Regions from separate parts of the Homo sapiens genome. Here all the other regions are linked to region 1. The links are contacts of gene promoters, found by promoter capture Hi-C in blood cells and fetal thymus (Javierre and others, 2016). All regions are on one chromosome and are shown on one strand. Each heading gives the region's core, a stretch centred on a gene start or on the middle of the fragment in contact. The rest is flanking DNA. Distances are from core to core; before and after follow the strand shown.

Region 1 (6,227 bases), core at 1,083-3,582:
ATTATTTAAATCTGAAGAGTAATTCCTCAACATTAGGTGCTCAACTATTTCAAGAATTTATTTTCTGGTCAGGTGGGGTTGCTTAGCCTATAATCCCAGCGCTTTGCGGGGCTGATGTGGGAGGAGTCTGAGACCAACACAGGGAGACTCTGTCTCTACAAAAAATAAAAAATTAGCTGGGTGTGGTGGTGTATGCCTGCAGTCCCAGCTACTTGGGAGGCTGAAGCAGGAGGACCACTTGAGCCTGGAAGGTCAGGCTGCAGTGAGCCATGATTGTGCCACTGCACTCCAGCCTGGGCAACACAGTGAGACCCTGTATTTAAAGAAAAAAAAAAAGGGAATTTTTTTTGGTACATATTTTGCAGCACTGTGGTTCCCCTGTGTAAGATTAGTCGAGAGAAGGAACAATAAAATCTGTAACTGGTTATGATCAATTAGTTGTAAACACCATTACACTTGGACCAGCCTATGTTCAGATTTTGATCTAAGATACAACATTAAAATGTCATACTGTATTTGTTTCCGTTGCATTACGTGAAAAATCAGGGCTTAAAATAAAAATATCCAATATAAGAGACATGCCAGCAACTGTTAATAGTGCTGAGATGTAACAGTGAATATAAAGTAGGTAAAGTCTCCGCTCTCATGGAACTTACATTCTAGTAAGAAAAATACAGAAAAGAAAAATGAGTCAGACTCTCAAACTGAAAGAATGACTAACCCTGACCCCAAGGGATTTTCACCAAGCACTAGAGCTTCAGGTGATCTAGCCAAATCCATAAAACAAGGTATTATTTTAAGATTACTGCAATAGGGAAACATACTTTCTCTTGACGGAAATTTTAAGCACTCCTTTGGTTTTCCAAATTTGTTGCATAAATAACTCCTCCTGGCTCTGGCCCACTAGGTAGGCAGACTTAAAGAGCACACGTTGACAGTGGGCCAGGAAGGAGCCAAGTCAGGAAGAGAAAAAAGTGCGAAGCCTGGGCAAAACTGTACTGCCAAGGCTGTGGGGCCTTGGAAAGGACAGATAGTTCTGCTGGCTGAAAGACACAGAGCATACATTCAAACGAAAGGCCAAGCTACGCTTTGCTCCTTGCAGTTAATACCTGCTTGGGGGTGGTTTTAAAACTCAGTTCCTTATTAAGGTAGTGCTTAAGGAGAGTGCTCCAAATCGGCTTCTTGAGTTGAATTAATCTTCTGGCTCCGGTCTCCACTGGGAATGAATTACTAGAGCTCGTTTCAAGCTCTGAAATTTCCCTCCATACTATTATACACGCCACAGTACGAAATTACGTTTGTCATTTTTTGAGCAATGACCATTTGTCATTGTCCTTCCCTCGCCTTGTTCACAGTTGTATCGTTGGCATCTGGTCCAGAGCCTGGCTCTGAGAAACTGCAGTTACGAAATATTTACTGAATGAAAGAGCACAGGGAGATGGAGAGGAAGATTGATAGCCTCCCTGCAACCGGACCTCCTTAGGGGCAATAAGGAAAAAACAAAACAAAACAAAAAAAGAGACACACTACACCTCGACCCTTTCCCAAGCAAAGGCCAAACGGGCCCCGGGGTCACAGGGACCTCGGGGGGTCGCAAGGTCAGGAGAATGCCGCACGCCAAGGTCGCAGGTGCGGGAAGGAAAGCGAGGCCCGAATGCCGGCGCCCCGGAAACCTTCCTCTCGCGCTCTTCCCGCCCAGGGCACACACGCGGCAGCCAGCCGCCGCCGGCCCACCGACTCGGGCGGGCCGGGGGCCAGGACAGGTGCGCCCGCCGCCCCCAGGGCACCCTATCAAGGGCACGGTCGTTACCCGGCGCCGCTGCCCCAGTACTATCCGCACCCCTCCCACTGAATGGGAGTCCGGCAACCGCCGAGGGCCACACTTCCTTTCCCTAGGGATTGCGTTGCACGCCTTCCTGCAGGGCCCAGTGCGGGGACCAGAGGGATGTGGGATCCTGAGGATCACTGTGGGGCACGGACGCTCAATCCTCAGTCCCCAGTAAGGGAAAGCCGAGGGGGTGGCAGAAAAGTGTGTGTGTGTGCGTGTGAGTGACAGTGTGTATTTGGGGGCCGGGAGGGGTGAATGTCCTGGGGTGCTCGCAGCTCGGCGGGGCAGGGCCATCGCCCTGGCTCCATCTCCGTTTCCCTTGGCTTACCTGGCTCTGGCAGAGGCCGCGGCGGCGAGGCCCGGGTGGAAGGCGGCGGCGATCCCGGGGAGGACGCGGCCGGAGTGCAGCAGGGCCATGGTGGACCGTAGGAGGGCAGTGGGCAGCCGCAGGACGGAGCAGAGGGCGAGCGGACACACACACAGGGAACCGGCTCCTGCTGAAGGTAAGGACAGGGACTTCCCTGGGCCAGAGCGGCCGCGTGCTGGGCCCGAGCCACGTCACAGCGATCCCTGGCGGCCGGCGGGCGGAGCGGCGTGGGCTCAGCGGAGGTCGTGGAAGAGGATGACTGCACAGTTTACCTACGCCCAGCCCTTGCTGCGCTTCATTCATTTAATCCAGCTGGGCCAGGCCTGGCCGGCCGAAGAGGTGGCTGCTGTTATGGCAGTTTGAAAGATGAGAAAATGTAGGCTGACATAGTTGACGTATTTTGTCTGATGCCTTACAGCCATTAGGACCCAAGGTGGCCTTACTTTCAACCCTAATAGTTTCCCTAAGCACAAGTCATGTCACGTCGTTCCTGAATGTTTCCTTATCCCCCACCCTTTTTTTTTTTTTTTTTTTTTTGAGATGGAGTTTCACTCTGTCACCCAGGCTGGAGTGCAGTGGCGTGATTTCGGCTCACTACAACCTCTGCCTCCCAGGTTCAAGCGATTCTCCTGCCTCAGCTCCCCGAGTAGCTGGGTTACAGGTGCCACCACCACGCCCGGCTAATTTTTGTATTTTTAGTAGAGACGGGGGTTTCACCATGTTGACCAGTCTGGTCTCAAACTCCTGATCTCAAGTGATCTGCCCGTCTCAGTCTCCCAAGACTGCTAGGATTACAGGCATGAGCCACCGCACCTGGCTTCCTTATCCCTTTTATGGAGAGGGTCGCATGTGTATTTTGTGGGGCAGTTGTGAGGATTAATAAGATTAGCAGATTATGTCTAAAACAGGGCCTGATTTAGTAAGCACAAAATAACCCATGGTCATTAATGACAAACTCGTGTATGTCAAATCCTGATAACTGTTTGTGGAAGGAAATGAATCGGTTTTGAAGGAAATGAATCGGTTTTAAAGGAAAAAGCAAATGAATTTCAGACACATCCACAAGTCAAACGAGTCTTTCTCATGTGTAGTCTATTTCTCTGATACTCGTCTCTTAAACCAAGGTAGGGGCCCGGTGTGTTGGCTTATGCCTGTAAACCCAACACTTTGGTAGACTGAGGCAGGAGGATAGCATGAAAACAAGAGTCTGAGACCAGCCTGGGTAACAAGATGAAACCCCCATCTCTTAAAAAAATAAAAAAAAATTAGCAGGATGTGGTGTTGCGTGCCTGTTCCAGCTACTCAGAAGGCTGAGGAGGGAGGATTGCTTGAGCCCATTAATTCAAGAGTGCAGGCCGGGCGCGGTGGCTCACGCCTGTAATCCCAGCACTTTGGGAGGCCGAGGCAGGCGGATCACGAGGTCAGGAGATCGAGTCCATCCTGGCTAACCCTCTCTCTACTAAAAAAATACAAAAAAAAAGTAGCCGGGCATAGTGGCGGGCGCCTGTAGTCCCAGCTACTCGGGAGGCTGAGGCAGGAGAATGGCATGAACCCGGGAGGCGGAGCTTGCAGTGAGCCAAGATCGCGCCACTGCACTCCAGCCTGGGCAACAGAGCCAGACTCCGACTCAAAAAAAAAAAAAAAAAAAGAGTGCAGTGAGCCAGGATTGCGCTACTGCACTCCAGCCTGGGTAACAGAGTGAGACGCTGGCTCTAAATAAATAAATAAATACATACATAAATAAAATAAAACCGAGATAGAACTGTGTACCTTGGCAATTTAATATCTCCTCTGTGGCTCCACGTTGCCTGAATGGTAAAGTCTAAACCCCTACTTAGGGCCACATTCTAGGTCCTTCCGGCCCAGCTCCAATTTACTGTCTCAGACCCTTATGCTCTCATATGACCTTGACCTATGCGCCTATAGGCCATGACTTGGGATTCTACCTGTGAAAAGTAAAGTAGAGATTCTTCTTTAAAGACTTTCCTCCCTGTCTAATTAGAAATAAATAGTAACTTCTCTTAAAAACAAAATGTATTCAAAGACCTGTACTAACAGTCTTAAATATCTGCTAGCCATAATAAAGAAATCAATGTACTTTATGTTCCTAGCTGCCACCATTTAGCCTAAATATTTGCCCTGGCATGCTTATACTGGTCCAAGCAAGCATTAGGTCATAGCCTGTTCCTCTTCCTTATTTGAAGGTGTTTTTACCTTTCTCAGCATTCCACAAGTTACTTCCTCCTTCCTTTGCTCTCCTCTGCCTTTGCCTCTTTTAAAAAGTTCTAAGTTGCTAGCCAATCAGAACAAATACAAAATGTGAGGACCTGTTCCAGCCAATGAAAACCGGACACAGCAGCAAGGTGGATGTATCAGGTTATAAGTGACCTTGTCTCCTTTGTTTGGTGTACTCTCATGGCAAAACTGCTGTCGAGTGTACCCTTTCTGCCGAAAGTATAAAGATGGCCTTGCTGAGGAAATTAAATTTATGTTCAAGTGCTATTTCTTTACAGCACCAAGAAACAAGAATTTCAAACATACCAGTACATCAGTTTGCTCAGACTGCTGTAACAAATCCCCATGAATTGGGTGGTTTAAAACAACAGAAATTTATTCACTCACAATTCTGGAGGCCCAAAATCAAAAATCAAGGTATTGGCAGGGTTTGTGCCTTATGGGGTCTCAGAGACTCTGTTCCATGCTTCTCCTAGCTTCTGGCAATTGTCTGCACTCCTGGGCATTCGTATGCTGTTAGAGGCATCACTAATCTCTGCCTCTGGTGTCACACAGTGTTCTCTCCCTGTCTGTCTCTTCTCTTCTTTTAAGGACACCAATCATATTGGGGTAGGGTGCATCTTAATTGCCTCATCTTCGCCTGATTACATCTGTAAAGACCCTATTTTCAAATAGATCACATTAATGGGTTCCCCAGGTTAGAACTTAAACGTATCTTTTTTGGGGGCACATTTCAACACATAACAACTACTATTCCCAAAACAATTACATGTCCAGGTATAAACCCTAGAGATCTTCTCACACATTTTTAAGGCTGTCAGTAAAGCATTGTTTATAAAAGCAAAACAGGGAACAACCTAGTCGCCCATCGATGGAGGAAGAGATGGATGTTCTGCTACAGTCTCATGATGGAGCATTACAGAACTACTAACGTGAATGAACTCAATAGATGTCACCATGGATAGACCTCAAAAACATAAACATGCTATAGAATTATACATATAATATGGTGCCACTTAGACAATATTTTTAAAATACACAAAACCATAACATACATTTATTCATAAATGTATGTAAAAGTTTGAAAAAATATGCCAAGGATATGGTTCAATACAGGATTAGGAGGGCATGAGCGTATTTGCCCTTGTGGAGGGAAGGAGACAACTTTGTCATATTAGCTTCATAAAAATTATAGATAAGAGGCAGGCACGGTGGCTCGCGCCTGTAATCCCAGCACTTTGGAGGCCAAAGCGGGCGGATCACCTGAGGTCAAGAATTAGAGACCAGCCTGGCCAACATGGTGAAACCCCGTCTCTACTAAAAATACAAAAATTAGCCAGATGTGGTGGCGCGTGCCTATAGTCCCAGCTACCCAGGAGGCTGAGGTAGGAGAATCGCTTAAACCTGGGAGGCAGAGGTTGCAGTGAGCCTAGATTGTGCCACTGCACTCCAGCCTGGGCACAGAGCAAGACTCTGACTCCAAAAAAAAAAAAAAAAAAGAAAAAAAGAAAAAATACAGATCAGATTAACAATTGTCACCATTTTGGGGTTGAGTATTTGTCACATTGGATTCTGTACTTTTCTGTATGTGTGTATATGTGTGTGTGTGCATATAGTTTTTTGTGTGTGTATATATATACACATATACATATATATACACACATATACATACATATACACATATACATATATATATATACACACATATACATATGTATATATGCTAATTTGAGTTCCTGATATGAAAGGTGGATTGGAAGGAACAACCCTACAGTGGGGAGACTAGGTAGAAGGAAG
Region 2 (6,227 bases), core at 2,506-5,005, 730 kb before region 1:
TGGGCCAGCTGGTGCTTCTGCAGGGCCGACGCGCGCTTGTAGGCCTTGTTGCACACAGGGCACTTGAAGGGCCGCTCGGCCGCGCCGGGCAGGCACTTGTGCCGCAGCAGCTCGGCAGATTGGTCAAAGCCTTTCTGGCACACGGGGCACTTGAAGAGAGTCTCGAGGGTGTGCACGTGCTGGTGGTAGAGCAGGTGGCTGGGCTGCCCAAAGCCCTTCTCACATAGGCCGCATTTGAAGGGCTCCTCGGTCTTGTGTGTGCGCCGGTGGCGCATCAGTGCGTACTGCTGCTTGAAGCCCATGGGGCACAGGTCGCACTTGAAGGGCCGCTCGGCGCTGTGTGTGCGCTCATGCTGCCGCAGGTCCGAGGGCCGCTTGAAGGCCTTCTGGCACTCGCCGCAGCGGAAGGGCCGCTCCCCACTTGGCGTGCACGGGTGCTGCAGCAGCTCCGACGACTCCTTGAAATGCAACTCGCACACGTTGCAGCGGAACAGGTGGTGCTCGCCCGAGTGCGCGTACATGTGGCGCACCAGGTGAGAGCGGTGCTTGAAGGTCTTCTCGCAGACTGCGCACTTGTAGGGCCGCTCGGAGCTGTGCGTGCGCTTGTGGTGCACCAGGTGCGACGACTGGCTGAAGCTTTTGTCACACAGCGTGCACTTGTAGGGCTTCTCACCGGTGTGGATCCGCTCATGCCGAGAGAGCTCCGACAGGTGCTTGAAGGGCTTTTGGCAGATGGGGCAGCTGTAGGGCTTGTCGGCCTGTTCAGCAGGGGTGACAGTGGAAGGCGCGGGTGCTGCGGGAAGCGACGGGGCGGCTGTGGTGGCTGGCTCCGCTGCCTCAGCTGGCTTGTAGGTCTTTTCACAGATGGAACACTTCACCAGGCCACTGTGGGAGCTGTGGTGCTGTGCCAGTGAGGTGAGTAGTGAGAAGCCCATCTTGCAGACCCCACAGACGAAGGGCTTCTGCTCAGCCTGCACGCACTGGTGCTCCAGCAGGTCAGTGGCCTGGTGGAAGATCTTGAGACACTGTGTGCACTGGAATGAGCGGTCATGGCCCGCCAGACACTGGTGCTCATGCGGACTGGACAGGTGCGCCAGGTCGTGACCACACACGCCACATTTGGGGCCTGGCTCTCCTGCTGCCTGCAGGGGTGCGTGTTGTGGGGGCTGCAGGCCGGGGTCTGGCTGCAGGAGGATGCCATAGACGGCACAGCCCAGGGGGTTCTCCGCCGTGCCCGGAGGCAGCGTGTGCTCTGCCAGGGCTGGCGGTGGCTCTGCATGGTGCTGAGGCTGCGGTGGCTGTGGCTGCTGCGGCTGCGTCTGTGGCGGCTGTTGCCAGCTTTCCGACATGCTTGGGAAGATGAAACAGGGTTTGGAGAGTAATGGCTTCAGTTTCCCGCTTCACGTGACCCAATCCAGAGAGAGAAGCTGCCCAATCACAGAGATGGACAAGGACCTCAGACAAGGCACAGAAGAGGGGCTGGTCAGACAGCCCGAGTCAGTAACCAAGCGGACAGACTACAAGGCTCTGCCTACAGGACATGGGGGCTCTTCAAGGGAGGGTCCCAGCAGTGCCGGGGAGACTCTGCCTTCCCCAGTGATCCGTTCTGTAGAGAAGAGAGAAAGTATGAGCTCGAGGAAGGAACAAGCAGCAGTTTCCTGGGCCTTCTCCCTGTCCTGCCCGCACTCACCACACCATCACAAACCACACATCGGGGAAGGCAGAGGTGCTCAGGGCTGCAGGACTCCTCCCTTCTTAGGCAATCAGAGAGGTCTGCAGCCAGCTCAGCTCCTCCAGGCAGAGGAAATGGCAGCGGCCTCCACCCCCACCCACCTCAGTGCCCCGCCCCTGGGCCAGGACATCCCAGCCTCCACAAGTCCCCTCCAGCTTCCTGCCAACCCTTTAGCTGAGACTCACAGGTGAGAGTCCGGGGTTATCTGCCTACAATACAGAATCCTCCTTAAGGCCCGCAGCTCCTCTCCTGTTGCTACCCTGAGTCTTAATACGGGCCACACCACTTAGAGCTAAGGAGGCCAGACCTCCCAGGTCTGAGAGCCCAGTGGCAAATGGCCTCTGACAGTCAATATTTAGGACAACTACGTGGAACCAAGGACCATTTCAAAAACTCTCACCTATGAGGGACTGACCACACCCCTTCAACTATCCCTGACCACAGGCCCATTCTCTCTCCGCGTGACAGGATGGGTGGCCCTACAGGAACCAGAGCCCATAGGTGATGGGGGCTAGATGAGAGGGCCACAGAACCACCCAGGCTTGATGTCCACACAGCAGAACTTCCTCACTCTGGTTCTCTCCCAGAACTCACACACACACACACACACACACACACACACACAAAGTCCTAAATCCTCTGAATCTCATAGTGTCAAGGCCTGCAGGAAAATGTAAGAAACTGCCCTGGTCTGCCTTGGCAATGCAGGATGCAGCATGCTAACCACAGAGCATTTCTCATCACCTCTCTAGAGACAACTCCATTCCCTTACTCCAAGCCTATAAAGTTCTGGGTAATTGTTGGAAGGTAAAGCCCACCCAGCCCAGGCAAATCTCTAACTCACCACTTTGTGGCAGCATGAGGTAATGCCAGCGAGAGGGAGGAACTTTCAGAGTCAGATGCAACCCACTTCCAGGTTCCCAGCTCATCTGCCTCTTACATTTAAAAGTTTGTAAGTTTTCTCCTGAGCAGAGGAAGAAGGAAGGAGAAGCCTTCACAGGACAGTCTGGCCTCTAACTGCTCTGCCAAAGAAATGTAAGAGTCAGGCTAAAAGCTGTCATCCTCAGCATCTTCCGGAAGGGAGGGAGGAGAGGAGCGGCTGCTCTGGGTGGAGGCAGCAGGTTGCTTGAGCAAGCAGGTACCACTCTAAGCCTTCTCGGGACAGAGAGGGGGAAGGTGGGCTTCTCTGAGCGCCTGTAGGTCCGCTGTGCCAACCCACTGTTTTGTTTGCTTTTTCTGGCATGAATGGCTGTCAGACAGTGTCCCCTGGCTTGGTCTGCAGCACCCCCTGCCCACCCTGGCCCTCCTGCAGCAAGGTGCAGCCAGGAAGCCTCTGTGATCACTCCGCAAAGGGGAGAGAGGAGGCAAGGAGAGGCAGGGGAGGCCCCCCACCTGCGCCCCACCCCGTCTCTTCTTCCTCCCTGAGAAACCGAATGAAAGCCGATCACCTCCCGCCGGCCCTGCCTGCAGGCCCAGCTGGGCTGCGTCCTGTCAGCCCTCGTCCGGGATGGCCCGGCCGCTGCGACCCGAGGGCGAGCCCCGAGGGCGGCCGGGCTGGAGAAAGGCCCCAGGGCTACAGGCCGGGCCCAGGAAGCGGCTGCGCCTCGAGGCCCGGCCTGGGCCGCCCAGAAGCTCAAGAGGCCGCTAGGTCGCGGCGGAGGGGCGCGGGGGGGCGGCCGGGCCGGCAGAGGAAGGGGTGCGGCGGGCGCGGGGGTGGCCCCCAGATGCGGCCCCGGGCGCCCCGCCGCTCACCTGCTCCAGGCCGCCTGCAGGGCAGGCGCGGGGCGAGCGGCGACCAGCTGCTCTCTCGGCCGCCCCTTTATTCCGGCTCCATCCGCGGCGGCGCGGCCTACGCGCGCTGCCAATCCCCGGCCTCGCGTAGCGGCTGCGGCCGGACCGGGGGCGGGGGACGGGCTAGCGGCGGCCGGAACGGAGGAAGCGACGCGCGCTGCCGGAGTAGCGGGGCCGGGGCGAGGAGCGCCGGGAGGGCGGGCGGACGGACCGATGGCCTTGCGGAGACGGGCGGACGGGCGGGCGGCGCGGGGGCCAGGGAGGCGGGGCCGGGGGAGGAGCGGCATCCCGGGCGGCGGCGGCCAATGCGGGAGGAGCGGGCGGCGCGGAGCGAGGCCGCCCCCTGCCGGGGACCCCGTGGCCGGGCCAGGTCGGACAAGCCGGGTGCTCCGGGCGGTTTTCGAGTCGCCAGGCCTGGGCGCCTCGACTAACCGAGGAAGGGCGCTCTGCTTCCGGCCACCCCGCTCGGGCTTAGGGGAGGGGGCTCCGGGTGACCGCCCTCGGCCCGGCTCTGCGCAGGAGAGGAGGGGCCTCCTAGAGGCTCTGGTCTGCCACAATTGATCCGCCCCTAACTGCTCAGCTTGGCTTTTAGGGGCTTGGACTTTGGGCTGGTTTGAGGAGGGGGCTCCAGGACCTCTGATCCTGGCCGGGCTCGGGGCAGGCAGGGGTCTCCGCTGGGTCTAGTGCGCTGACCCGGGACTGTCGTGTCTGGTATGTCTGGTCCCGGGTGGCTGCAGACAGCAGCGGGCAGAAAGGTGAGGGCCCTGAGCGATATATGAAATGGGTACACGAAGGCTGGGGAGGTCCCAGCGGGGTGCCGGGAGGCTGCAGGTGACCAGATCCGCGTGCGCAGCCGGCAGACAGCTTGGAGTCGGTGGGCTGAATCTTCACCACTGTCCTGCCGGGTTCCGCCCCTCCCGGCTCCGCCCCGAGGCGGTGCCAGCCCAGGCCCCGCCCCTGGGAGGGCGCTTCCGGCACAGCGGAACTCCGGGTGCCGGTTGAGGTTGCTGGTGGACCTGCTCTGGTGGTCTTGGATGAGGCCCCATGAGCGCGGCGCCCCTGGTGGGCTACAGCAGCAGCGGCTCCGAGGATGAGTCCGAGGACGGGATGCGGACCAGGCCGGGGGATGGGAGCCACCGTCGGTGAGGAGTGAGGAAGTCTCTCCGGAGGGCGCGCGCATTCACCCTAGAGCCAGACGGGACCCGAATGTCTGGGGGTGGAGTGGGGAGGGAGGATGCGGGGCGGCTCTGGGAAGGAAAAGGGGACGCAGGAAGAAAGGAGGATCCAGAAGATATACCCCTCCCCCCCACCCCAGACAAAGCTCCAGAGTGGCCCCACCTGGCTAGGGCCAAGTTGGGAGGCCAGACCTGGGTTCGGGTCCAGCCTCGCGCTGGCCCACTCTATCGCCTGGCACACATCCCTGTACCATCCTAGGTCCGTTTCCTGATTTGAATACAATTGCGATAGTAATACTTGCTAAAGCGTAGGGAGAGCCTTTTCATTCATCCAGTAAATATTCACTGAGCACCCACTCCCTGCCAGGCTGGGGTCTGGTAATTCAGTGGTGAACAAAACCGTCGGCCTTACTTCCTGGGGCTTAGATTCTTAAATGCTAGGCCTTATCTTTGCTGAGTGCTTTACAAGCAGTAGCTCAGTTGATCCCACAATTGCTCTATCAGGTAGACATATACTTTCAGATGAGGCATTTGAGGCCCAGAAAGGGGACATGACTTGCCCAAGGTCATAGAGCTAGAAAGTGCTACTCCAGCTGCAGCCTGTCCAGCTTGGAAATGTGACCCCTGAACCACATTGTTGCATGCCCTGTTGTTTCCCATGGGGACCTTGTGCCCCAGAGTTGGAGACCCCAATGAGACAATACTGGAGAAACAATTTCGCTATCTAGAAGCTGCTTCCAGCACCAGGCTGGAAACACACACTCAGAGCCACCATATATAAGGGGTTACAACTTTTGTGGTATATACAAAGGTAGAGAATGCTAACAGGATAAATGTACTCATTTTTCTTTTTTTCTTTTGCAGTGGCCAGAGCCCCCTTCCCAGGCAGAGATTTCCAGTACCTGACAGTGTGCTGAACATGTTCCCGGGCACCGAGGAGGGGCCTGAAGATGACAGCACAAAACACGGGGGACGGGTGCGCACCTTCCCCCACGAGCGAGGCAACTGGGCCACCCACGTCTATGTACCATGTGAGTGATGTGTGAAAGGCAAGTTGCCAAGACCCATAGACCCGTAGGTGCCTCATGAAGGGCAGAATCTGGCCCCAACTAGAAGGAAGAAACCAGAAACCTCTAACACTGGTGGTGGGAAAGTCATTGACTTAGCAGAGAAAGAGCAGGTTTCAAGAACTGGGGATTTTTCTGTCATCTTGGTTTTGAATTCGTAGCCTAAAATGTGTATTACCTCTGGGTATAATATTCTCCCTGTTCACGAGGAGGTGACCAAAGGAGAATCTGGAGCAGGGTGTCAAGGTCATGCCAGGCACTTTATTTCTGAGAGGGCCCTGGGTACGCTGGGTGTGCAAGGTTCAAATCCCACCCTAGCTCTGATCAGCAGGTGGAAGACAAAAAATGCCCAGGCTTCAGAGTCAGACCTCACTCCGCTGCCCACTACTCTGGGTGCCCTTTATAAGATACTAGACTTCTCAGAGCTTCAGTTTCTTCAAATCTAAAATGGGGGTAGCACTG
Region 3 (6,227 bases), core at 946-3,445, 610 kb before region 1:
AAGAACACCGATTTCTCTCCCTCCCCGCAATGTAAGCCTCAGGGAGGTGGGTCAAGCTGAGGGAAAAAAAAAATACTACTACTGGGATAGGGAGGGAGCTGGTGGATGCTGTATATTTCTATGACTGCTTTAAAAATAACATGAGTTGTATCCATTCCCTCCCCCAACTTTCATTTTTCTGGCCCCACCCACTCAGCCTGGCAGGCAGCTGAACCCTCAGCCATCTGGCATCCTAGCTTTAATGACACATGCTCTAATTTACATTAAACCATTAGAGCTGTCCATTTCAGCAGGAAAGTTCCTGCACTGGGTTAAGGGCTGGGTTCCCAGACAGAAATTAGGCAGAGGGAGACCCCTGTGGGGAGAACTGAGCATAGCTCCGACTCAGACTCCCAGGCTCCAAGGGTCAAAGGCTTCACTCCCTTCGCTGTACTTGACAGGGGCTATCCAGACAGCAGACAAGCAACTCTGGGCATACACCAACAACCCCTAAGTCAGCGTAAGGACAATTATGTGCACAGCTAAGAAAAGGCAAGTGTAATTAAAACCCATGTCTTCGGACGGGCGCGGTGGCTCACGCCTGTAATCCCAGCACTTTTGGAGGCTGAGGTGGGAGGATCACCTGAGATCAGGAGTTTGAGACCAGCCTGGGCAACATGTGAAACCCCATCTCTACTAAAAATACAAAAAAATTAGCTGGGTGTGGTAGCGCATGCCTGTAATCCCAGCTACTCAGGAGGCTGAGGCAGGAGAATTGCTTGAATCCAGAAAGAGGAGGTTGCAGTAAGCTGAGATTGTGCCATTGCACTCCAGCCTGGGTGACAGAGCGAGACTCTGTTTCAAAAAAAAAGAAAAACAAAACCAAAAAACCATGTCTTCGTTCAATTACAGTAAAACCTGACTCAGAATAATGAAGAACATTCTCCAAGTCAGAAAAAAAGTTTTACCACCTTTATGTCCAAATACACTCAATTCTACTACTGAAAACAGCACCAATTTAATTTTTATCAACAAGGCATGCTAACTAAAAACTAGAATGTAGGAAATTTTTTCTGAAGAGAGACTTTATTTTTAAAATTAGAACAGGACATGGGAATCTAACACTATCCAGCAACAGCAGAAGACTCTGGTCTAATATTTAGTCTTGGAGTAGGGGAGAAACAGCAGCAGCTGAGAGAAAGACAGGGTGACAGGAAAGACAGACAAAGGCGTTTTCATGAATTAATGCAATCTCATCTCATGTACTTTTAGGATACTATCTTGTTTTTTTTGAGACAAAGTTTTGCTTTTGTTGCCCAGGCTGGAGTGCAATGGCACCATCTCGGCTCACCGCAACCTCCACCTCCCGGGTTCAAGTGATTCTCCTGCCTCAGCCTCCCGAGTAGCTGGGATTACAGGCATGTGCCACCATGCCCGGCTAACTTTTGTATTTTTAGTAGAGACGGGATTTCTTCATGTTGGTCAGGCTGGTCTTGAACTCCTGACCTCAGCTCGCCTTGGCCTCCCAAAGTGCTAGGATTACAGGCGTGAGCCACTGCGCCCAGCCAGGATTACTACCATTAAGACCGAAAATTGGCTGGGCGCAGTGGCTCACGCCTGTAATCCCAACACTTTGGGAGGCCAAGGCAGGCGGATCACGAGGTCAGGAGATCGAGACCATCCTGGCTAACACGGTGAAAACCTATCTTTACTAAAAATGCAAAAAATTAGCTGGGCGTGGTGGCGGGCGCCTGTAGTCCCAGCTACTCCGGAGGCTGAGGCAGGAGAATGGCGTGAACCCAGGTGGTGGAGCCTGCAGTGAGCCGAGATCGTGCCACTGCACTCCAGCCTGGGGGACAGAGCAAGACTCTGTCTCAAAAAAAAAAAAAAAAAAAAAAAAAAAAAAAAAAGACTGAAAATTACAGCATGTTTTACACAAGTATAAGTGGGAACAGAACCTCCTGGTATTTTCCTTACAACCAGAAGTAATGTTTACATTAAACGTAAGAGTCTTTTAATAAATATAAGATTTGCTGGTCCCAGATGTCAAGGTAACATTAAAGAAACCCCTAATTTCTTCTAAGCTGTTGGTTTAGAAACTTACAAAAGCTTCTATCAGGAAACTGTATAGCCAGGAATACAGACCTTAAGAAGCTAATAATGTCAAGTGTGATAAGAAAGAAGTAAATTAACTTACCCTGAAGAGTTAAGGAAGGTCACTCTGAGAAAGGCCTTTGAACTGTGACTGGAGCCTAATGAAAAGATGGGAGTGAGGCTTGTGGGGTGGTGAGGGGCAGCGCCCAGCAGAAGGACCAGGAAGTGCAAAAGCTTGAAGGTGAGAGAACAGGACTTCCTTCAATTCAGTAGGAGGCTACTACTAAGAGGGGGAACCGGGTGAAGTGAGTCCCGCCTGGAGAACAAGTGAAGCAGGTGCCAGAGCATGGGTTATGTGGCCTTAGAGCCACATTAAGGGCTTAGGGCTGGGCGAGCCACGGTGCAACAACTAAATTCTTCTCATTTCAGGAGTCTGGTTTTACAGTACTTCCTATTCCTAGAAATCTGGATGGTGGGCTAAGTTCAAACATCTTATTTTAGTTTTGAGCAAATTCCTCAGTCCCTGCCATATTTAATTCTGTATGTCATTACTTATAAAGTACTAACTACAGTCATGCATTGCTTAAGGATGGGATTACGTTCTGAGAAATGCCTCATTAGGCAGTTCCATGGCTGTGTGAATATCAGAGTGTACTTACACAGACTTAGACAGTACAACATCCTACACACCCGGGCCATATGGTATAGCCTATTGCCCCTAGGCTACAATCTGTACAGCATACTACTGTACTGAATACTGTAGGCAACTGTAACATAATGGTACGTATTTGTGTGTCTAAACATAGAAAAGGTACAGTACTGTATAAACGATAAAAAGTGACACAACTGGATAGGGCACTGGCCATGAGTGGAGCATGCAGGACTGGAAGTTGCTCTGGGTTGAGTCAGTGAGTGAGTGGTGAGTGAATGTGAAGGCCTAGGACATTACTGAACACTTTGTAAACACAATACACTTATGCTACAATACATTTATTTTATTTAGTTATTTAGTTAGTGCTGGGATTACAGGCATGAGCCACTGTGCTTTAGTTATTTAGTTAGTGCTGGGATTACAGGCATGAGCCACTGTGCCTGGCCAGACTACACTAAATTTATTAAAAATATTTTTCTTTCATCAATAATAAATTAACCTTGGCTTACTGGAACTTTTTTACTTTATAAACTTTAAAAATTTTAAAAACTTTTAGACTATTTTGTAATAACACTTAGCTTAAAACACAATGTTCAACTGCACAAAAATATTTTCTTTCTATATATCTTTATTCCATAAGGTTTTTCCTATTTCTTTTTTTAACTTTTTAAACTTTTTTGTTAAAAACTAAGACACAAACACACACATGAGCCCAGGCCCGCACAGGGTCAGGATCATTAACATCAATCACAGTCTCCACCTCCACATGCTGTCCCACTGGAAGGTCTGCAAGAGCAATAACGCACATGGCGCTGTCATCTCCTATGACAACACTGCCTTCTTCTGAAATATCTCCTGAAGGACCTGCCTAAGGTTATTTTACAGTTAACTTTTTGTTCTTGTTGTTAAGTAGGAGTACATTCTAAAATTATGATAAGGCCAGGCACGGGAACTCATGCTTGTAATTCTAGCACTTTGGGAGGCTGAGGCAGGAGGACTGCTTGAGCATAGGAATTCAAGACCAGCCTGGGCAACATGGAGAAACCCCGTCTCTACAAAAATACAAAAATTAGTGAGGTGTGGTGGTGAGGGCCTGTAGTCCCAGCTACTTGGGAGGTTGAGGTGGGAGGATTGCTTGAGCCCAGGAGATGGAGACTGCAGTGAGCCCTGATTGCACTACTGCATTCCAGCCTGGGCAACAGCAAGACCTTGTCTCAGAAAAATAAAATACAATAAAATAATGATAAAGAGTATAGTAAATACATAAGCCAGTAACATAGTCATTTATCATCAAGTGTTAGGCACTGAACATCATTGTATATGCTATACTTTTACATGACTGGCAGTGCAGTAGGTTGGTTTACACCTACTCACAAACACGAGTAATGCATTTGACTTAACGAACAACTATTATGTCACTAAGCGACAGGAATTTTTCAGCTCCATGATAATCTTATGGCACCACTGTCATGTGTAAGGTCTGTCGTTGACTGAAACGCCATCATGTGGTGCATGACTACATATACTGTAACTCTGTTGCTAAGGACTTTATATACAGCTTCATTGAATCTTCATAACCGTGAGAAATAGACGAGAAAACTGAATGGTTAAGGACATAGCTAAGATCACACAACTGGAACACAGCACAGCCAGGATGCAAATCCAAGGTGTCTGACCACGCCCTAGCATTGAGGTTTTTCGGTAAGGTACTGTTCTTCTGCTTAAGGAACCTGCAGTCCAGTGGACGATCTACAATAGAAAACTGCCAGCCACAGGCACACCCATGAGGCTTAACTCAAGTTCTCAATGAAAAGAATGTTTAAGTTGAGATTGGAAGGATGAGATGGAGGGGAGGGGCTGTGAGCTTCAGAGAGTCAAATAAATTGCCGGTGTGACAAACACTAACGAACAAGCCATCTTCACAAAAGGGAAGCTTGCAAATTCACTGGTACTGTGAATACAGCGTTCACTTCTATGCAGACAGAGCCTAAACAAAAGTCAAACCAAATTTCTCAAGATTCTTCATAGAAACCGAACAGAAATTCTCTCTATATATACTCATGAAAGAAAACAACAAAGTTTTCTGAAATAAAAATAACTATAAATAGGTACCACAGTCAATATATACCTACTGGCAAAAGTCAAGGTCATGTCTAGCTAAATGTAGACAGTCCTCACCTCCCCACAAACTCTGTCCTTATTACAACTTTGCCTTAGTCCCTGGCAGCAGGAAAAATATTTTCTCTATCTTCCCAAGTCTACACAAAGCCTGTCACTAAGCTGTCGCTCAATAAATCTTTGATAAGTACATCAATTCCCAGTGTTCCCCCTACTGGATTGAATTTCCAGCACTTTATGCAGACATAGCTGAGAAAAAGCACACACGACAAAGCTGAGGGATACGGCCCCAAACTTTCCTTTTTCTTCTCTTTCCTTCCCTTGCCCCAAGAGGGGAAAAATCCTCAATTCTAAATATTTTTCAATTGAGTCTAAATAAGAAGAGTTAGAAACACAAAATTAGCTTTTACCGTTGTGAAGATTTTGCTTGAAATGAGTGTTCTAAAGGTTTTGCCAAAATGTCTGTTTAATTTACTCCAAGTAACCATGCCAATCGATTTAACAATGTTTTCACACGTGTTTATGTCATTAGGGTACCATCCGACCTCTAGTGGCGTTGTTAAGGGACACAGTGCACCATGGTTACTATGCTTTTATATTCTTGGGTAAACATGTTGACTATTCAAAAAGCCTCATTTGAAAAATAAAACACAGCACACAAGATCAAGCCCAGAAGGGTTAAAATGGAAAACTGATACAAGTTTCGTAACAGAAATTCTGAGGCCTCCCTACTACTGGAATTCTTTCAGCTTTAGTAAGTTCTCTATCTGCTCTGAAAACCTCTCCTCCTAGGTCAAGTCCCATTCTCGATTTCAATTGCCTTATACTGACACTTTGTTACAATTCAGTTTCCAAATTCCACTGGCACAGAGGGCCCCCCTCTCTTCATGCCTTCTGACAGCCCATAACTGAGTCAAGTGACAGCTGGGAAGCCAACCTCCTTACGGAGTTCCCAGGCACCCTGGGCTCTCTTTGTACAGATGCAATTTACAGTTTACAATGCTTTATTCCATTGTGAAAAAATACATGAAACTAAAAACCTCAGTAACGCAGCAACGTTAAGGAACTGCTTTCCTGTACTCTGGCACTAGCTCTAGCTTGTGGATAGAATCATCTGAAAGAGAAGAGATGGGCAGATTTTACATACACAAAGGCCCAACTTCATTATATTCAGATTTTTCAACTATCTTATGAAAGTAACACTATGGACACACCATCCTAAAAGCTGCCCTCAGAACGCAGAGTTCCCTAGTGGTGACAGGCAGAAAGCTGCTCATGTTCTCTCCCAACTTTATGTGGCCCTCATAAAGAGCTCTCATGTGTGGATAAGGGAATACAGAGACGTGTTCCAAGATAAAATTCAAAATTCTTGGCTTCATTACCA
Region 4 (6,227 bases), core at 2,078-4,577, 550 kb before region 1:
CTCATTCATTCGTTTCGAAGTTTTGTCTTGTTCTAAAGTATCTTTATTACAGTTTTGGCATATATGAAGCATAAAAACTGCTGATTTTAAGGAGAAACTGACCAAACCAATACCTCTACCATAAAGTGAAATACAAGGAAAAAAATTAGTAGGCCATAATTCTGAACTAAATTAACACACTTGGTATAACAAATGATCATGTACTAAAGTTACAAAGCAACCATCAACAAATTCCAAATAATTAACATTATATAGGTCACGTTCTCTGAACATAGTGCAATCAAATTTTTAAAAAATTCACCTGGATTCTGGATCACACATTCACAAACACACAGCTATAAAGAACATTACTGAAACAATAATTATAGAGAAACTTTTGAGTATGAACTTATCTTAGATGGCATTATTGTATAAATATTAAATTTCTTTGGTATACTAAAAGTATTGTGGTTTGCATAGGAAAACAGCCTAGTTTCAGTGCTAGCGTATTTACAAGTGACGTATCATAATGATGTCTGCAACTTAATTTAAAATGACTCAGCAAAAAGATAAAATAGAAATAGAAAGGAGAGGCTGAGCATGGTGGCTCAAGCCTGTAATCCCAGCACTTTGGGAGGCCAAGGTGGGCAGATCACCTGAGGTAAGGGGTTCAAGACCAGCCTGGTCAACATGGTGGAACCCTGTTTCTACTAAAAATACAAAAAATTAGCTGGGTGTGGTGGTGCACGCCTGTAGTCCCAGCTACTCAGGAGCCTGAGGCAGGAGAATCGCTTGAACCCAGGAGGCGGAGGTTACAGTGAGCCAAGATCAGGTCACTGCACTCCAGCCTGGGTGAGAGATAGAGGCTCTGTCTCAAAAAAAAAAAAGAAAGAAAAGAGAGGGTGAGGGGACAGGGAGAAAAATAACTGCAAATGTGGCAAAACAGTAACAACTGGTAAATCTAGGTGAAGAATATATACTGATTGTGCTACTCCTTCCAATTTTCCAAGTAAAAAGTCTTCGGAGAAAAATGCAAATTCACAATGTTGCAGTTTGCACTTCTAGTTTGAAAACTATCCAGAAGTGAGTTCCATAACCATGGGATACACGTAAAATGACGCTTAGGGTTGTACAAACTTAAGCACATGTATTGTCAAGAAAAACAAAATCAAGGCCAGGCGTGGTGGCCCACACCTGTAATCCCAGCACTTTGGGAGGCCAAGGCGGGTGGGTCATGAGTTCAGCAGTTCAAGACTAGCCTGACCAACATGGTGAAACCCCGTCTGTACTAAAAAATACAAAAATTAGCCAGGCATGGTGGCACACGCCTGTAATCCCAGCTACTCAGGAGGCTGAGGCAGGAGAATCACTTGAACCCAGGAGGCGGAGGTTGCATTGAGCCAAGACTGTGCCACTGCACTCCAGCCTGGGCAACAGAGCGAGACTCCTTCTCAAAAAAAAAAAAAAAAAGAAAAAGAGAAACAGAATCCAATGAGTTTAATTCAACTCAAGAAATGAAGAAGAAAACCACTGAAAGCCCAACAAAGTTGAAGGAAGAAAGAAGAAAAATAAGATAGGAGCAGAAAGAGAAAAACAAACAAAAACAATAACTGAGCAATAAAACCAAAAAGCTGGTTCTTTTAAAAGATTAACGACAGATCTCTAGCACGACTGATTTAAAAAGGAGTAAAGGCACAAATACTACTTAAAAATGTGAAGGAAAGGATAACTACAGATACTCCAGAGTTTTTTTTTTTTTTTGTGACCAGTCAACAATATAGTTTTTAAGTCCTAAGAGAATTCTTTGTCAATCAAATTGAAAGTGAATAAAATATATATTATCCAAATAGACTCAAGAAGAGACAGAAAACCTGGATAAACTTTAAGTTATGTTTTAAAAAGGAAAGTATAGTTCAAAGTCTTCCTCCCATCCTTGAAAGACATCTATCCATATAATACCTATCTTACATAAACTTTCAGAGAATAGGAAGAGGAAAAGCTACCCAATCTATCTTATATAGTATAACCTTGATAGCAAACTTAGAGAAGGACCCTATGACAAAATAAAATTATAGATCAAAATTTATAATCCATTGCACAAATATAAAATACTGAAAAGAATGGGCTGCGGGCTGCATCACTGTTAATTCACCCTGGTATTAACGAGGAATGAACACTCTCTGGGTGATAATCTTAAAACCAGTTATTAATATACTTTACACTAAAATTAAAAAGACAAAAAAACAAACTTTCCTAATAAGATGGACACAGGACAAAATAAAAAGACTAAAGGACATCACGACGGTGAACTAAATGATTTTGTTTGTGGCCTGCCATACTATCTGGAAAAGAATTTAATTTTCCTGCCATGATTTGCTCTTCAAAAATACACATCTGCCATCTGATATTTAATGATCTCTTGATTAAAATGTCATGGCTTGAACATTCAAAGGGGACCTCCAGTTAAACAAGGCAGATCAAACACCTCTGCTCTACCTGAAACTCCTCTAAAATAACCGTAAAAGGAGCAGGGAGATTAAATCGTAAGAACTAAGAAGATAGGAGAAACAACATTGTGAAGCTAGAAAACATGTCTCTGCCAACAGCGAAAGGCCAAAAGCAAACAGCTTCAAACTGAACAACCTCAGAAATGTTCAGGACGGGGGACCTCCAATGTTGGTTTAAGAGAGGAAACAGAGTGCACCGGAAACGGGAAAATGAGTTTAAGATGCCACACTGAAAAGGGGAGACTTAGGTGAAGTCTGCACAACATTCCCCATGGTTCTCCTCAACTTGAGGCTAAGATACCAGCAGCCAAGCCTGCATCCTTGAGACAGGGGCTGATGGTTCTTTAGAGCAATGAGCAGACATTCAAAAACCATGATATTTCAGAGACTGAATAACAAAATAACAAAAACTCACACACAAAGAAAAATAGAGAAAAAGTATGAAGGGAAAAAATACAATATTCTTAGTGAGAAAATAGAAGGTATTACATAAAACATAAAAGAACAGGATACTATTTTAAAAAGTTCCAAGACCAAAATGGAGCTGTAAGATGTGAAGTCTAACATTTGAATGAGTTCTGGAAAGTGAGAACAAAGAAGAAAGGGGAGAAAAATCAAAGAACATTAAAAATATTTTTCCAAAACACAGGGGAAAAAGCCCAGCAAGTATGCAGAACAAAAGATAAAAGGGACCCATACGAAGGCACGTCATTGTGAAATTTCAGAAGAGTGCAAATGAGAAAATCCTAAAAGCTTCCAGAGGTAAAAAACAAAAACAAAACCGTCACATAAGATGAAACTAGAATGGCTTCAGTGGTAATACTGGAACAATCTCTTCAAAATCAAGGAAATTATGAATTATAACCTAGAACTCTATACCCTAGCAAATACATTAATTGGCAGGACAAAATAAAAATGACTTCAGATATGCAAGCTTCAAAAAAACATTAATTTCCCATAATCCCTTTAAAGAAAGCTACAAGAGAATGTATGAAACATCCCCTTTGAGGGTTAAGACCCCAGAGAGAATTTCTCTAAGAATTAGAATTCCCACTAACTGATCTTCAGCAGTTGTTAAATCAACAGAGCAGATGTCACTTTAAGAAACAGAAAATGGGCTAGGTGCGGTGGCTCACGCTTGTAATCCCAGCACTTTGGGAGGCCAAGGCAGGTGGATCACGAGGTAAGCCATCGAGACCATCCTGGTTAACATGGTAAAACCCCATTTCTACTAAATATACCAAAAAAAAAAAAAAAAAAAAAAAAAAAAAAACTAGCCAGGCGTGGTGGTGCACGCCTGTAGTCCCAGCTACTTGGGAGGCTGAAGCAGGAGAATTGATTGAACCTGGGAGGGGGAGGTTGCAGTGAGCCGAGATTGCGCTATTGCACTCCAGCCTAGGCGACAGAGCGAGGCTCCGTCTCAAAAAAAAAAAAAAAAAAACAAAACCACAAAATGCTGAGGTGAAATTTTACACATGTAGCAGACAATTGGTAAAAACTCATTAACGAAGCCCAGGCATTTAAAACTTGGGGAATTACACTACGAACTTCCATTCAGATAAGGTTTCAACTTTTGCATTAGGAAAATATTTGGTTTCATTAAAGCCTATCTGGTTTTCTAAGACATGCACACACATTCCCACTCACATATACCAGGATAAACCTGGGTGATTCATAGGATCAGCTACACATATCAGCATAGTACCCTACCAGCTAAGCGCTGTTATGCTACTGAATGAAAAAATTTACACCCTGCTTTTTAGAGTTCACTGCTAATTTCACCTGTAAGGAGTCACATTAACAAGAAAATCTGTCACATGTGGGAAAGTGCTATACTACACATAAAACTTCCTTATTGTTTTATAAGTCAAAATATCTTCTTTTGCTTACTTTTCACTAATTAACCTTGTTTTAGTCATTTTAGAGTGATTAAGAAAAATTAGGCCAGGCGCGACAGTGGCTCACACCTATAATCCCAGCCCTCTGGGAGGCCGAGGTGGGTGGATCACCTGAGGTCAGGAGTTTGAGACTAGCCTGGCCAACATGGTGAAACCCCGTCTCTGCTAAAAAAAATTTAAAAATTAAAAAAAAAAAATTAGCTGGGGGTAGTAGTGCATGCCTGTAATCTCAGCTACTTGGGAGGCTGAGGCAGGAGAATCGCTTGAACCCGGGAGACAGAGGTTGCAGTGAGCCAAGATCACACCATTGCACTCCTGCCTGGGTGACAAAAGCGAAACTCGATCTCAAAAAAAAAAAAAAAGTGTGAGAATAAGGTTCTCTTACTTTTACCCAGAACCATCCGTCCTGATACCAACATCTTTTAACTGCTGATTTAGTTTTGTCTCTAGCTCCTGTCACAACAAAATCACAAGTCTCTTATTCACTGACAGAGTTACAATCAACTACAAGTCCTCCAAGTGCCCCTGAAAATCAACACTACTATTTTGTTTGTATATTGGTTTTTAAATTACGTTCTAAAAAAGGGTTTCCACCATGTCTAGTATGCCTAACCCCAAAAACCTTGATATTAAGGTTTTAATGTTTGAACAATAAATTTTGTGAAACACGAGCTTAAAACCATGATTTAAAAAGAACACTTCAATGTCTAAAATAATTTACATTATAAGAAAATGTAAAAAACCCGATAGGGCTCTTCTAAAGCACTGACTCTGGTTTTTCTGAATCATTTCTTTGTACGTCACGTGCGCAAACACACACTTTGTTATTTGACAGCACTGAATCCAATGCATTGCTTCTTTTCACAAGGGCCTTGTATCGGTCTATCCCTTCCTCTCGGCAAAGTAAGATTTCGTACAAAAGGCAAAGTTAACATACAACTAAAGCTATGCTGTCTAAAACAGGAGTGTTACAGATGAGGCATTAGCTTAGACCCAGCCGAGCAGCTACTCCTGGAGTAGGCAAGGCAAAGGGTGATTAAGTAATTTCACCTAATGCAAGAACCCTAGCCACTTTCTGCATCCTGCACTCATGCCTTAAGGAACCCAATTTGTTATTTCCTCCTCTCACCAATGACAGCCCTGGCCCCTTGGGTTCTGGAGTACACAGTATTTATCACCAGCTCCCCCTCACCCCGTTAACCCCATGCCAGAAAGAAAAGCATACGCACCTTAAAATCTGTATTATTGATATATTCAAATACCAAAGCTGGTGTCTTTGACTGTAAAAGAGAATATTAATGCTTTTTAAGTACCCAAACAATAATCAATGTAATCTGCTTCTGCCAAAATGGCCCATCCCCAAATCCTACTTAGGTAACACAGGGATTCACTCATCAGGGACAGCCTGTCAAGAAAAGTATTCTCTTGAAATTTTATGATGTCTGGAATTTGCTTCAAAATAACTGGGGATAGTGGGAGGTGGGAAGTGGTGGGAGTATAGATGAAACAAGGTTGGCCACAGCTGATTAACTGCTAAAGTTGGGTCATGTGTGAGGGAAGTTCATTACATTTTTCATTTACTTTTGAAAATGGTTGAAAATTTCATAATAAAAAGTTTTAAGAGGAATGTATTCTCCGAATAACCTACCAATGGCCTTAACCAATCTTCAAAGGTTATGTGAGGATTTACACCCTGCAGTGTTCCAGTCTGCCATATACAAAAAAAGTGACACATTTTCATCTTAGTTTAGCAAGCCAGAATTGCACTTGACAGAATTATCATAGGTTGTGGGAATGTATCATAGGTCTTTTGGGGGTCCAAAAGGAAAATATAACCATCCGT

Evidence for each region. The method cuts DNA at HindIII sites, captures the fragments that hold promoters and counts their contacts. A CHiCAGO score of 5 or more calls a contact.
Region 2: the fragment with the promoter of ZNF319 here is called in contact with the fragment with the promoter of GOT2 in region 1 in 1 of 17 cell types (activated CD4 T cells); the score reaches 6.8 in activated CD4 T cells.
Region 3: a contact is called between a fragment that was not itself captured here and the fragment with the promoter of GOT2 in region 1, in 2 of 17 cell types (activated CD4 T cells and non-activated CD4 T cells). The highest score is 5.6, in activated CD4 T cells.
Region 4: a contact is called between a fragment that was not itself captured here and the fragment with the promoter of GOT2 in region 1, in 1 of 17 cell types (activated CD4 T cells). The highest score is 5.1, in activated CD4 T cells.

The regions. Positions count from the first base shown.
Region 1 is chr16:58,731,984-58,738,210 of GRCh38, forward strand. It overlaps GOT2 (glutamic-oxaloacetic transaminase 2), which reads right to left and starts at 2,333. Exons shown (of 10, transcript NM_002080.4): 1 at 2,157-2,333. The coding sequence starts at 2,245. RefSeq lists silencers at 1,658-1,747, 1,848-1,937 and enhancers at 2,060-2,678, 2,378-2,457. The HindIII fragment of the contact is 10,522 bases long and covers 1-6,227 here.
Region 2 is chr16:57,996,917-58,003,143 of GRCh38, forward strand. It overlaps ZNF319 (zinc finger protein 319), which reads right to left and starts at 3,756. Exons shown (of 2, transcript NM_020807.3): 1 at 2,577-3,756; 2 at 1-1,606. The coding sequence starts at 1,349. It overlaps USB1 (U6 snRNA biogenesis phosphodiesterase 1), which reads left to right and starts at 4,491. Exons shown (of 7, transcript NM_024598.4): 1 at 4,491-4,665; 2 at 5,563-5,729. The coding sequence starts at 4,568. RefSeq lists enhancers at 2,840-3,109, 3,967-4,136, 4,309-4,603, 4,630-4,729 and silencers at 3,230-3,359, 3,410-4,009, 4,300-4,549. The HindIII fragment of the contact is 9,268 bases long and covers 635-6,227 here.
Region 3 is chr16:58,121,741-58,127,967 of GRCh38, forward strand. All of the region lies in intron 1 of CFAP20 (cilia and flagella associated protein 20), which reads right to left. Among named protein-coding and RNA genes, the nearest start is that of CFAP20, 4.5 kb to the right of the region's middle. RefSeq lists a silencer at 5,302-5,371. The HindIII fragment of the contact is 219 bases long and covers 2,087-2,305 here.
Region 4 is chr16:58,178,647-58,184,873 of GRCh38, forward strand. CSNK2A2 (casein kinase 2 alpha 2) reads right to left here. Exons shown (of 12, transcript NM_001896.4): 4 at 5,614-5,664. Among named protein-coding and RNA genes, the nearest start is that of CSNK2A2, 16 kb to the right of the region's middle. The HindIII fragment of the contact is 181 bases long and covers 3,238-3,418 here.